Linked DNA regions of Homo sapiens: all the other regions are linked to region 4. Evidence: promoter capture Hi-C in human tissues and cell types (Jung and others, 2019). All regions are on one chromosome and are shown on one strand. The core of a region is centred on a gene start or on the middle of the fragment in contact, and the rest is flanking DNA. Distances in the headings are between cores, read along the strand shown. Region 1 overlaps KDM5A (lysine demethylase 5A). Region 2 overlaps KDM5A (lysine demethylase 5A). Region 3 overlaps IQSEC3 (IQ motif and Sec7 domain ArfGEF 3). Region 4 holds the start of SLC6A12 (solute carrier family 6 member 12).

Region 1 (2,700 bases), core at 64-2,563, 68 kb after region 4:
TTAAGAAACTTCAAGTGTATCTTTTTGTTGGCAAGAAAATTATTTCCCAAGAGGTAATCAGATTCCCCTCCCTGCCCCCGCTCTTTCAACCAACCCTCCTCCTAACATACACATACAGAGTTACACATTTCATGAAACTGAGGCCAAGTCCACTGCAAGCAGAGTCTTAACATTTTCAGAAATGATCCGTCCTTCATATCTGCATAAGCTGGGATCCTTGGCAATGGGGAAAAGGTGCCATTTGCTTCTCTGAAGTAACTTGGGGTCTGAATTGGTTGTGAGCTTTAAGAAGCCAAAGAGAAAGGGAAAGCATTTCCTTGTTTTCCCTATTAATGGTTTGTTGCAAAGGGATAAACTTCTCAAGAACCAAAAGTGAGGAAATGTGTTGGTCATCACTGGATTCTTGCTGGAAACAGAAGGCAGGTGAAATCTTCAGGAATCACTTCACACTCCAAAAACACTATTCTCAGCAATGATAATAGGCTAATCACACCACTGATCAAATTATTTTGGCTCAGTTCTTTATTTTATAGTTAGCAAATGAAATTAGAAACTGCTTTGGCACAGGTCAAAGGTGGCTCCCATATACTCACTAGTTTTCCTCAGGATTATCAATACTCATTATCAAAATGTACTTTTGCTTGGTTACCATTTAAAGTTGCCACCAATGTAAATGACAGGGGTTAGGGTGGGTATGGGTGTGGGGAACCTGAGCATACACACAATTTTTTAAATCTTTTAGATGTAATGCAATTAACCATATCTAATATTCTTTTAGAAAACACAAGAAACACAAAACATGCTCAAAGATCAAGAAATCGAGTTATACTTTTCATAAGGCACCACCAATTACCCTGATAAATTGTAAATAAATATGTAAGGGAATAATCAATAGGGAGTCTTGAGGTTTTACAAGACATTCCTGTTTAGACCACTTGGAGTACTGCAAAAGAAAAAACAAACAAGATACAGCTTTCATAACCCATCATATCCTTGCCCAGTGCACATCATTTGTTGCATAGTGGTGACTGGATATGATCCAGGCCAAGACAAGACCAAAATTCAAAAAATACATTAACAGCCATTCTTCCTCATACTACAGTAGGAGATACCACTTGGGACATTCATATCCAAAGAAGTAATGGTATGACTTAAAAAAAAAGGAGGAATTTCAAAAGGAGTACTTAAGGACCTGCTATAAAAGCAACCTTCTACACACATATGGAGCTAATTCACATGTGAAGCTTTATTAAATCTGGTTATATGTGGGACTTCAACAGCTCAATTTTTCCACAATTTCCACTTTTCAAATCCCATGCCAAACTGTCACTTTTTCCCTTAAAAAGTGGATAAACCCATCTTTTGAAAGACAGGTCTTCTCAGTTTTTCTGTTCATCCTCCTACTGTAAGTACTGGCTGATATTCACACACATGTACTACAGAATTAAAATACTGACAAGCAAGTAGTTTCTTGGCGTGCACGAATTGCATCCAGAACCCAAAAATTAAGAAATTCAAAAAGACATTTTGTGGGCACCTGCTAGCACAGAAGCGCAGAAGCAAAGCCCAGGCAGAACCATGCTAACCTTACAGCTCAGCCTGCACAGAAGCGCAGAAGCAAAGCCCAGGCAGAACCATGCTAACCTTACAGCTCAGCCTGCACAGAAGCGCAGAAGCAAAGCCCAGGCAGAACCATGCTAACCTTACAGCTCAGCCTGCACAGAAGCACAGAAGCAAAGCCCAGGCAGAACCATGCTAACCTTACAGCTTAGCCTCTGTCCTTTAAAAAAAGAGAGAGACAGACAGACACATGGGGTCTCGCTGTTGACCAGGCGGGACTCAAACTCACAGGTTGAAGCAATCTTCCCACTTCAGCCTCCTGACCACAGGTGCACTCTACTGCACCTGGCTGCCATGTTTTTTATTATTAAAGTACATTATGGGTAATCACAGGTTTAATGTTTGCCGTTTCCATTATTCAAGGTATGACATGCAATAATTTATAATTTTACTGAGGCACAAATTTGAATCATGCAGGCAAAGCTGGTGTGCAGCAGCTTAGTGAGGAAGTCATGCATCTACACATCAACATGGCTTTGCTGCAGTACCTATCAGGAAGCAAAATAAACATCTGTGGAAGAAAAATCTCCTGTCTTCTCCCCCAGCTAGAAAGCTAACTACTGGTGCTGTATTTGTACTTTTAAACTTGGGGATCTGCATAGTTCTAATGACTTAGCTTTTAAGAATACCACAGGCCTACCATATTTCCATTTTTCTTTCTATAACCTTTGCCAGAGTTAAAATACTAATGATGAAGAATTGCAACTTCAGTTGCAGTTTAGAGGAGATAAGGGTAGAAAGACATTTTAAATCATGTCTTAATACAAAATATTACAATACAGAAGGGAGCAAGTAAGTAATTTTCTCTAAGTGAAAATAATGCTTTGTATTAGAACACCAACATTTCTTTAAATAGATGAATCTTGTTTCATTAATTCCAAAACCGCAGATTTGTGTATTTTTTGTTTTGCCATTAATTTCTCCCTTCTGTTCTTCTCAGCCTTGGTCTAAACCTGTGGTCAAGTCATACCAAATCCTCCATGACTGTCAAGTAAATACAGAAAATCCCACAGTATCAACGAAAAGACATATTTAAGTTTCAAAACGTCAGAAGGTGACAGGAAGCTATTCATACTTTCT
Region 2 (2,700 bases), core at 139-2,638, 84 kb after region 4:
ATTTCATGGCCAACCATTGTACTCCACTCGAAATGGAGTCACAGTCTTGATTAACATAATGCTTTTTCTCATTGGTTTTCTGCTTATGTTCCCCACAGTTTTTTAAAGGAGTAATACCTTGAGAACAACTCTTAGAAGCAGAAGAATAAGCATGCTCTGCACAAAATGAAGGTGCTGTCCACATGTGGGTCACCACCTCCTCGGATTTGATGGGAATCTCTTCATCACAAAAAAGATTGGGTTCAAGACTACTAGAGGACTTCACACTGGCTGTGTCCTGAAGAAGAAACAAAGAGAAGTATTCAGAATTAGAGTCATTTAACTTATTTTATGACAAGGCCCAAAATGGAGGCTTTCAGGTTAAAGCTTCTAATATACTAAAAATATGAGATTAAAATTAAATATCTGATGTTAAATAAGATAGAAAATGTCCATTGGGGAGAAAAACTGTAATTGTGGCAGGCCAGGTCTCCATGAGCAACCAGAACAGTTTCTACTAACACATTACTATAATTCTGATGAATGTGTAAGTTAAACAGTAAATAACTGGAGAAACTACTGCCTTCGTACAAGGGCTGAAATGTGAAAACAAACCCATTAAGATTTTCACCCGGGTTTTCTAAGACCCTAAAGCCTGATAAAGTTATGAAGGCATTCTTACACACACCTTGTACCAGGGCCCACTTAAGATAAGGAAATTTTTCCAAGTCTCTAGAGAAAGCTTTCCAGACCCTGGACCCTACCTGAAGATTAGATACAGTTTGAATGAAACATTCTGGCTTGTAGGTGCACCTCCTACACACAGACATAGAATTTAGAATGAATACAAGCGTTGAAAAAAACTTGTAACTTTTAGTTGGTCTGGTGAGTTACTCCATAACCAGCTGCAGAAATTAACTCCCTTCTTTCCCAGTCAGTCTGCATCTCCTTATTGGACTGAGAGAAAAAGCAGCCAGACCTCGTTCTGTCCAGGAATATAATGACTACAGATTCAAGACAAAAGAGAGTGTTAAGGTCAAAAACAATCCACGGAGATAATAAACCTACAAAAAAATTACTATTGCTCTCTAGATTCCTCCTCTCTGGGCAGGGCATCTCTGAAAAAAAGGCAGCAGCCCCAGTCAGGGACTTATAGATAAAACCCCCAGCTCCCTGGGACAGAGCACCTGGGGGAAGGGGCGGCTGTGGGCGCAGCTTCAGCAGACTTAAATGTCCCTGCCTGACGGCTCTGAAGAGAGCAGCGGATCTCCCAGCACAGCATTCGAGCTCTGATAAGCAACAGAATGCCTCCTCAAGTGGGTCCCTGGCCCCCGTGCATCCTGACGGGGAGACACCTCCCAGCAGGGGTCAACAGACACATCATACAAGAGAACTCTGGCTGGCATCTGGCCAGTGCCCCTCTGGGATGAAGCTTCCAGAGGAAGGAACAAGCAGCAATCTTTGCTGTTCTGCAGCCTCTGCTGGCGATACCCAGGCAAACAAGAGTCTGGAGTGGACCTCCACCAAACTCCAGCACACCTGCAGCAGAGGGGCCTGACTGTTTGAAGGAAAACTAACAAACAGAAAGGAGTAGTGTCAACATCAACAAAAAGGACGTCCACTCAGAGACTCCACCCAAAGGTCACCAACATCAAAGACCAAAGGTAGATAAATCCACGAAGATGGGGAGAAACCAGTACAAAAAGGCTGAACATTCCAAAAACCAGAATGCCTCTTCTCCTCCAGAGGATCAAATCTCCTCGCCAGCAAAGGAACAAAACTGGATGGTGAATGAGTTTGATGAATTGACAGAAGTAGGCTTCAGAAGGTGGGTAATAACAAACTCCTCTGAGCTAAAGGACCATGTTCTAACCCAATACAAGGAAGCTAAGAACCTTCAGGAAAGGTTAGAGGAATTGCTAACTAGAATAACCAGTTTAGAAAAGAACATAAATGAACTGATGGAGCTGAAAAACACAGCACGAGAACTTCGTGAAGCATACACAAGTATCAATAGCCGAATCAATCAAGCAGAAGAAAGGATATCAGAGATTGAAGATCAATTCAATAAAATAAAGTGAGAGGACAAGATTAGAGGAAAAAGAGTGAAAAGAAACGAAAAAAGCCTCCAATGCATATGGGACTACGTGAAAAGACCAAATCTACATTTGATTGGTGTACCTGTGTGATGGAAGAATGGAACCAACTTGAAAAACACTCTTCAGGATATTATCCAGGAGAACTTCCCCAACCTAGCAAGGCAGGCCAACATTCAAATTCAGGAAATACAGAGAACACCACAAAGATACTCCTTGAGAAGAGCAAACCCAAGACACATAACTGTCAGATTCACCAATGTTGAAATGAAGGAAAAAGTGTTAAGGGCAGCCAGAGAGAAAGGTCAAGTTACCCACAAAGGGAAGCCCATCAGACTAACAGCGGATCTCTCGCAGAAACTCTACAAGCCAAAAGAGAGTGGGGGCCAATATTCAACATTCTTAAAGAAAAGAATTTTCAACTCAGAATTTCATATCCAGCCAAACTAAGCTTCGTAAGTGAAGGAGAAATAAAACCCTTTCCAGACAAGCAAGTGCTGAGAGATTTTCTCACCACCAGACCTGCCTTACAAGAGCTCCTGAAGAAAGCACTAAACATGGAAAGGAACAATCGGTACCAGTCACTGGAAAAAACATACCAAATCGTAAAGACCATCGACGCTAT
Region 3 (2,700 bases), core at 26-2,525, 100 kb before region 4:
AGTTGGGGTTTTAATACCACCTTAGGGATATCTGGGATTAGGCCAAATAGTTTAACTTCTACCTCCAGGGAGGCTGCTTAGCAGCTTTATCCACAAGCCTGTTCCCTAACCCTAACCCTAACCCTAACCCTAACCCTAGCTTCTATAGAGTTTCCTTTCTGATGGCCGTTTACATGAACTATGGCTACCTCTGCTGGAAGCAGGAGGCTTTTTAAAACTTGTTTGACCAGTTTCCCATATACCAATTCTTTCTACCTGCTATTTATTAGGCTCCACTTTGTCCAGATCTTTCCAAAGGTGTGTACTACTCCATAGGCATATCTGGAAATAGCATATACAGTGCCTTCTTGGCCTTATATGAGCTTCAGGGCTTGGTTAAGAGCATGTAATTCACAGGTTTGGGCTGAGCAGTTATTGGGTAATCTACCTTTTTCTCATAAGGTTTGTTTGTTTCCATCAATGACAGCCTGGACATTGTGTCTTTTACCATCTATCACTCAGGATGGCCTATTCACAAACAGCCTCATTCCATCGAGTAGTGGAATTTCTTTAAGGTCTGGTCTAACTTTGGTTTGATATTCTATCATATGTAAACAGTTATGGTCTGATACCTGCTTATTCTCCTCTCATTTCCGTAAGAAACTGACTGGAGTTCATTTAGGCGCCTTTCCAGGGCCCACTGACCCCAGGAGGAACTTGAGGAGGCAAGGGGCTGACCAGCTGGCCTTTCAGGGTGTCTTTAGCCGGGCTCTGCCGGGTCTGGCTCTGGGCCAACAGCTGCTGGTTTGAAGAGCTGCCAGCCTGTGGTGCCTTCCCTGATGGGCACTCTCATCAGCAAAGGCATCCCTGGCTCCTTCTTTGCTTTGAAGGCACCATCCGTCTCCCTGGCAGGCCGAGAGCTGCACTGTTTGTATTCCACGCCACCCCTGCTGGTGACCCAGCAACTGCAAAGGGTCCCAGGTTTGTCCCGCTCTGGGAGGGGACTTGGTGGCTTTTCGTCAGCTGCAAGGGTCGCCCCTTGGCCCAGCCCAGCTCTGGGAAACAGAACTTTTATACACCCCACCTCAAAGCATCCTGGCGGACTTCTCCCCAGCACGCGCTCTCTCTACTTCAGGGATTGCAAACTGGCATTTTCTATCACCTGTATTGGGTTATTAAGTTTTTTTAACTGATCACCAGCATTTAAAAATCCTGTTTCACATAAAAAGTCAGAATTCTGGCCTCTGACAAAGCAGACAGTCTGGCAACACAGGGCTGGCACTGTGAGAACAGTCGAGCAGCTGCAGAGGTGTGCCCTCTTCAGTTAGCCACAGTCCCCATCCAGCCCTGCAGCCCTCCTTCTCACCATTTGCTGGCCGTGTTGTCCTTTGAGTTTATAACCCTAGTTCGGATCTTCCTTATGTAGCCCCCCGGCCTCTCTGCAGCCTTACTGACGGCTGCCCCTGGTGGACTCACAGCCTCTCAGTGAAACAGCAGCAAACCTTAATGCTCATCTCATCCACTCACCCTTCCACATCCTGAACCCTTTCTACACCCTCCTGACAAACAGCCATCTAGTCTTTGCCGTACGCAACCCACTATTCCTCAGGCAGCCTGATCCTAAACTCTCCTCCACATCCCCTTCTCACTTGCATCCCCCAGTTCCCGGACCCTGTCCCTCCTCAGTGGCCGCACTGCACCCTTTCCCAGCACCTCCTTGTTGCTTGAGCCTCTAGAACCTTCCCCCAGCCCTGCCAACCTCTCCACATCCTCTCACTTCCTCTTGTACTCTTTCTTCCTTTTGCATTATTTTTCTCCCCAGTCTTAACTTTGGTGTCTCTCTTTGATCTGTCTTTTCCAGTCTCTTGCTCTCGCTCGTTTTCTTTTTCTATCTATCTCTATCATCCTGTTTCCTTTTTCCCTCACACTTAGTTTCTTTCTCTTTCTCTCTCTGGGCACAAGCTAAACTGTGCTGGGCCCTGGCCCCTGACAATCTGCAAAGATGGACAGCTCTGTCGAAACAACAAAGATTCAGCAACAACTTTTATCAACAGCTTTCAGCAGCCAGCTTCCACACACAGTTGTGTGGCCGCCTCTCCCTTGCCTTCAGGGTCAGCAGCTTAACTCTTTCTCTCTCTGGCCCTCTATGTTTGCCATTTCCTCCCCTTTGTCTTTCCAATTTTCTTTTTTACTTTTTCTCTTTCTCCCTTTTCCAGTTTCTCTTTTCTTTCTTCTTACAAAAACCTTCTGAGCTTCCCTCAGTAATTCCTTAATCGGTTTTTCATTCCACCTATCAATCTTTTGCAGTTTCTTAGTAATATCAGGCCAGCTTTTGTCACAGAACTAAGTCCTAAAAGGCCTTGCCCTACTGGGTGCTCTGGACCTAATCCTGAATATTTTCTTATTTGATCCCTGAGCCTCTGCAGAAATGCGGAGGGAGTCTTCTCTTTTTATTGTTGGATCTCGAATGCTTTCAAGACATTTTGTGTTCTAAGAGTGGACTTTTTAATCCCTTTAATTATTAGTTCCCTTGGGTCCTGCACTGGGGCCTGATCTCTGAGGTTATTGTTATCCCCTCTGGGATTTGCATTTGGGAATTTCTGCTCAGCTGGCAGGACTCCTTACCCGGGAGAATGGGGTCTCTCCCAAATGGTCATGGCTGCCCTTATAATCATTCCCCTCTCTTCCCCAGGAAACAGAATATTTATGATTGACATTATC
Region 4 (2,700 bases), core at 152-2,651:
CTGGGCTACTTTTAAAAGGCAAAGGACTACACACCCCACCCCCGCTGTGCCCTTCCACCTCCAGCTTCGGCTGGCCGCCTCTCCAGCCCCTCGAGTCTCCTCCAAGGCCGCCCACCTGCTTTGCTAAGCCGGGACAGGGGGGTGAGGGGTGGGGGATGGGCCTCATCATACTTCAGTGCCCTCCAGAAGCAAACACACCAATTTCCACACCGGGCTTGGTGCTGCCCAGAGAGCAAATCTTCAAGAGACTAGAAAGTCCAAAGTTAAGTCTGTTTTCAGGAGCTGGGCATGTCGCCAGAGGCCCAGCTGGGGCTAGCAGAGGTGCAGACGAGACCAGAAATGCTGCTGCCCATGTGCTGCTGGGATCCCAGCTCTGTCCCCTTTGCTCCCCAGTCCAGCATAGGAATAGCTCAGACCCTGCACACGGGGGGATGGGACACCCAGCCCCTGCTTCAGTCCACACCCACATACCAACACCCATTCCCATACACACACTGGTGCCATTTCCCGTCACGTCCCTTCGCACACACATACCTGTGTGCATGGCACCAAAACCTGGCTCTCTCTGTAGTCCTTCACACCCCGTGAGTGCCGGTCTCAGCTGGTGGCTGCCTGCAACTCCCCTGAGTGCCCCCCTCGGGTACAAGCACACCCATAGCATCCACCGCCCAAAGCCAAGACAGCTTCCTCCTGGGAGGCGCCTGGCACCCAGCTCGTCACGCTCAGCCGGCAGGCAGCGGGCAGGAACCCCTCACCTGTGATCATTTATTGCAGTTCCTGGGCCCTCGGGAATGCCCCGAGGTTTCTCCTGTCCACTTCTCCTTCCACCTTGCTGGGCACCACCTGCTTCCCCTCCCCTCGTCAGATGACCACCCCTGCTTTCACCCACTGCCGTGACCAGCTGCCCATCGCTGGACTTTCCTGCTCCACAGGCTAATCACTGAGCTGCTCCCACGCTGGATGGGGCGGAGCTAGGGGGCACCCCTTGTCCTGAGAGTCGTGGGCATCAGACTTGCCCTTTGGCCTGAGGTTATTGCAGGTCCTGCCCCCCGCTGCAGACACGCAGTTCCACAGAGTCTCGCTTCCCAGGGCTCTATCCCTCCAGCCCCTCTGAGCAGCAGTTGGAGACTGCAAAGACAGAGCCAGCCCCTCCACTTCCCGCTCACCTCAGTCCCCAGCACCGGCTCCTGTGGTCAGCTTGGCTGTGGGCATCAGGTCTCCAGGAGAGTCCCAAGGCAGCTGCTTATGGGAAAGCCAAGAGAGCCGGGACCTGAAAGGGAAACTGCCCTCCACGTTCACGCCTTACCCTGTTCCTCCCAGCGCAGAATCCCATGTGACTTGTCCAGGGACTCCCAGACAGAAAGAAGCCGTGTGTGTATGTGTTGGGGCGGGGGCTGTGTGTGTTGGGGAGTGAAAGGACAGAGAAATACCAGGAGCAGCAGGAGGGACTGAGGCCAAAAGTTTGTGAACCGAGATTACAACATCCAACCTCAGGAAGTCAAGTCCTCTGTCCCCAGCGCTCCCACCCCCATCCCACTCCCACTGTGAACCCACTGTCTCCAGACCGGTGCCCTCCCCGTGGGCACAGTCCCATGATGGCCCCTCCAGAGCTGGGCTGAGCTGCTGCTCCCTTGGGCAGGGGAAGGGGCTCAGAGACTCACACCCTGACCTCATCTCCCCTCCTCCTCCTCCTTGCCCTTCCCCCTTCCCCCTTTTCCCCTATCCCCCTCCAGAACCATCTCCTTCCCAGGGATGAGGAGACGGGTATGTGCAGCACAGGGGACAGCCCTCTCTTACCAGAGACTCCAGGCTATAAACTGAGAACCTTGGGAGGGGAGGTGACCTCACTGACGAGGGCAAGGGAGGAGGGTGAATCACACGCTGGAGTTTTCCACCAAGTACCTGCCCTCTGTGGCTTCTAGGCAAGGCCCTGGACCTTCACAACCCTTCTCCTTGGGATTTTCCTAGAGAAAGCACCCAGAGCGTACCTCAAGAAGCAATGTAGAGAGGACCCAGGATTGGGACCAGACAGACCTGAGTTTCTTCTCCTCCTCTATCATGTATCAGTCACGACAGCTAGGCAAGGGTCAGCCTTGGTTTCCCAGTCTGTCAAAGGTAGGTAACAACACAATATCTACTTTGCGGGGTTGCTGTGAGGGTGCAGGGATATCATAGGTGCTTAAGGGGAGGTGTGGGTGTTTGTTGTGTGTCCTCTGGAAGCAGAGGCTGGGATGGTGGGGTGTCTGGTCCCAGGCACCTCTGGTCACTGCATAGCACCAGGCACCTAGCTAGAATTTGTCTGGAGTGGCCTGCCAGCTATCAATGGGGAAGGGTATTTTTTGAATACATGTGCCCTATGCCGTGTGCCCAGTGAGCTCCTCCAGAACAGCGTCCTGGTCACTGTCCCTGAGCACGCCCACCTGGTGTGGGGTACAGCACTGTCCCACCGCCCTTCATTCAGAATAGCTGGTGCCTCCTTCAAGACAAAGGAGGTGCTTCTTCAGCTCTAGGTGGTATGAAGGGAGAGGAAGTTGCAGGGAGAAAGGGAAATTTCCTTTTACATGTGCTTCCTCTGTGTATTTTAGAACTTCCCAGCAGGGGTGGGGTGTGAAGTGAGACTCTCAGTCTGTAGTTTTCCATCAAGCACCCCCACGATATGTCTCTCGGGCCCCTCTCAGCCTCTCCTGTGGGGTTCCACAT

What was found. Contacts are between HindIII fragments. The study calls those that stand out against the background at their distance.
Region 1: a contact is called between a fragment that was not itself captured here and the fragment with the promoter of SLC6A12 in region 4, in 2 of the 25 tissues and cell types used here (H1 embryonic stem cells and dorsolateral prefrontal cortex).
Region 2: a fragment that was not itself captured here is called in contact with the fragment with the promoter of SLC6A12 in region 4 in 7 of the 25 tissues and cell types used here (IMR-90 fibroblasts, aorta, dorsolateral prefrontal cortex and 4 more).
Region 3: a fragment that was not itself captured here is called in contact with the fragment with the promoter of SLC6A12 in region 4 in 3 of the 25 tissues and cell types used here (H1 embryonic stem cells, heart right ventricle and lymphoblastoid cells).

What each region holds. Positions count from the first base shown.
Region 1 is chr12:280,384-283,083 of GRCh38, forward strand. It overlaps KDM5A (lysine demethylase 5A), which reads right to left. Exons shown (of 28, transcript NM_001042603.3): 28 at 1-2,700. Among named protein-coding and RNA genes, the nearest start is that of SLC6A13, 19 kb to the left of the region's middle. The HindIII fragment of the contact is 5,517 bases long and covers 1-2,700 here.
Region 2 is chr12:296,924-299,623 of GRCh38, forward strand. KDM5A (lysine demethylase 5A) reads right to left here. Exons shown (of 28, transcript NM_001042603.3): 25 at 118-277. Among named protein-coding and RNA genes, the nearest start is that of SLC6A13, 35 kb to the left of the region's middle. The HindIII fragment of the contact is 4,145 bases long and covers 1-2,700 here.
Region 3 is chr12:107,989-110,688 of GRCh38, forward strand. The region is part of intron 2 of IQSEC3 (IQ motif and Sec7 domain ArfGEF 3); the gene reads left to right. The region is part of intron 1 of IQSEC3-AS2 (IQSEC3 antisense RNA 2); the gene reads right to left. Among named protein-coding and RNA genes, the nearest start is that of IQSEC3-AS2, 2.4 kb to the right of the region's middle. The HindIII fragment of the contact is 5,213 bases long and covers 1-2,700 here.
Region 4 is chr12:212,756-215,455 of GRCh38, forward strand. It overlaps SLC6A12 (solute carrier family 6 member 12), which reads right to left and starts at 1,402. Exons shown (of 16, transcript NM_001122848.3): 1 at 1,167-1,402. RefSeq lists an enhancer at 512-1,283. The HindIII fragment of the contact is 37,462 bases long and covers 1-2,700 here.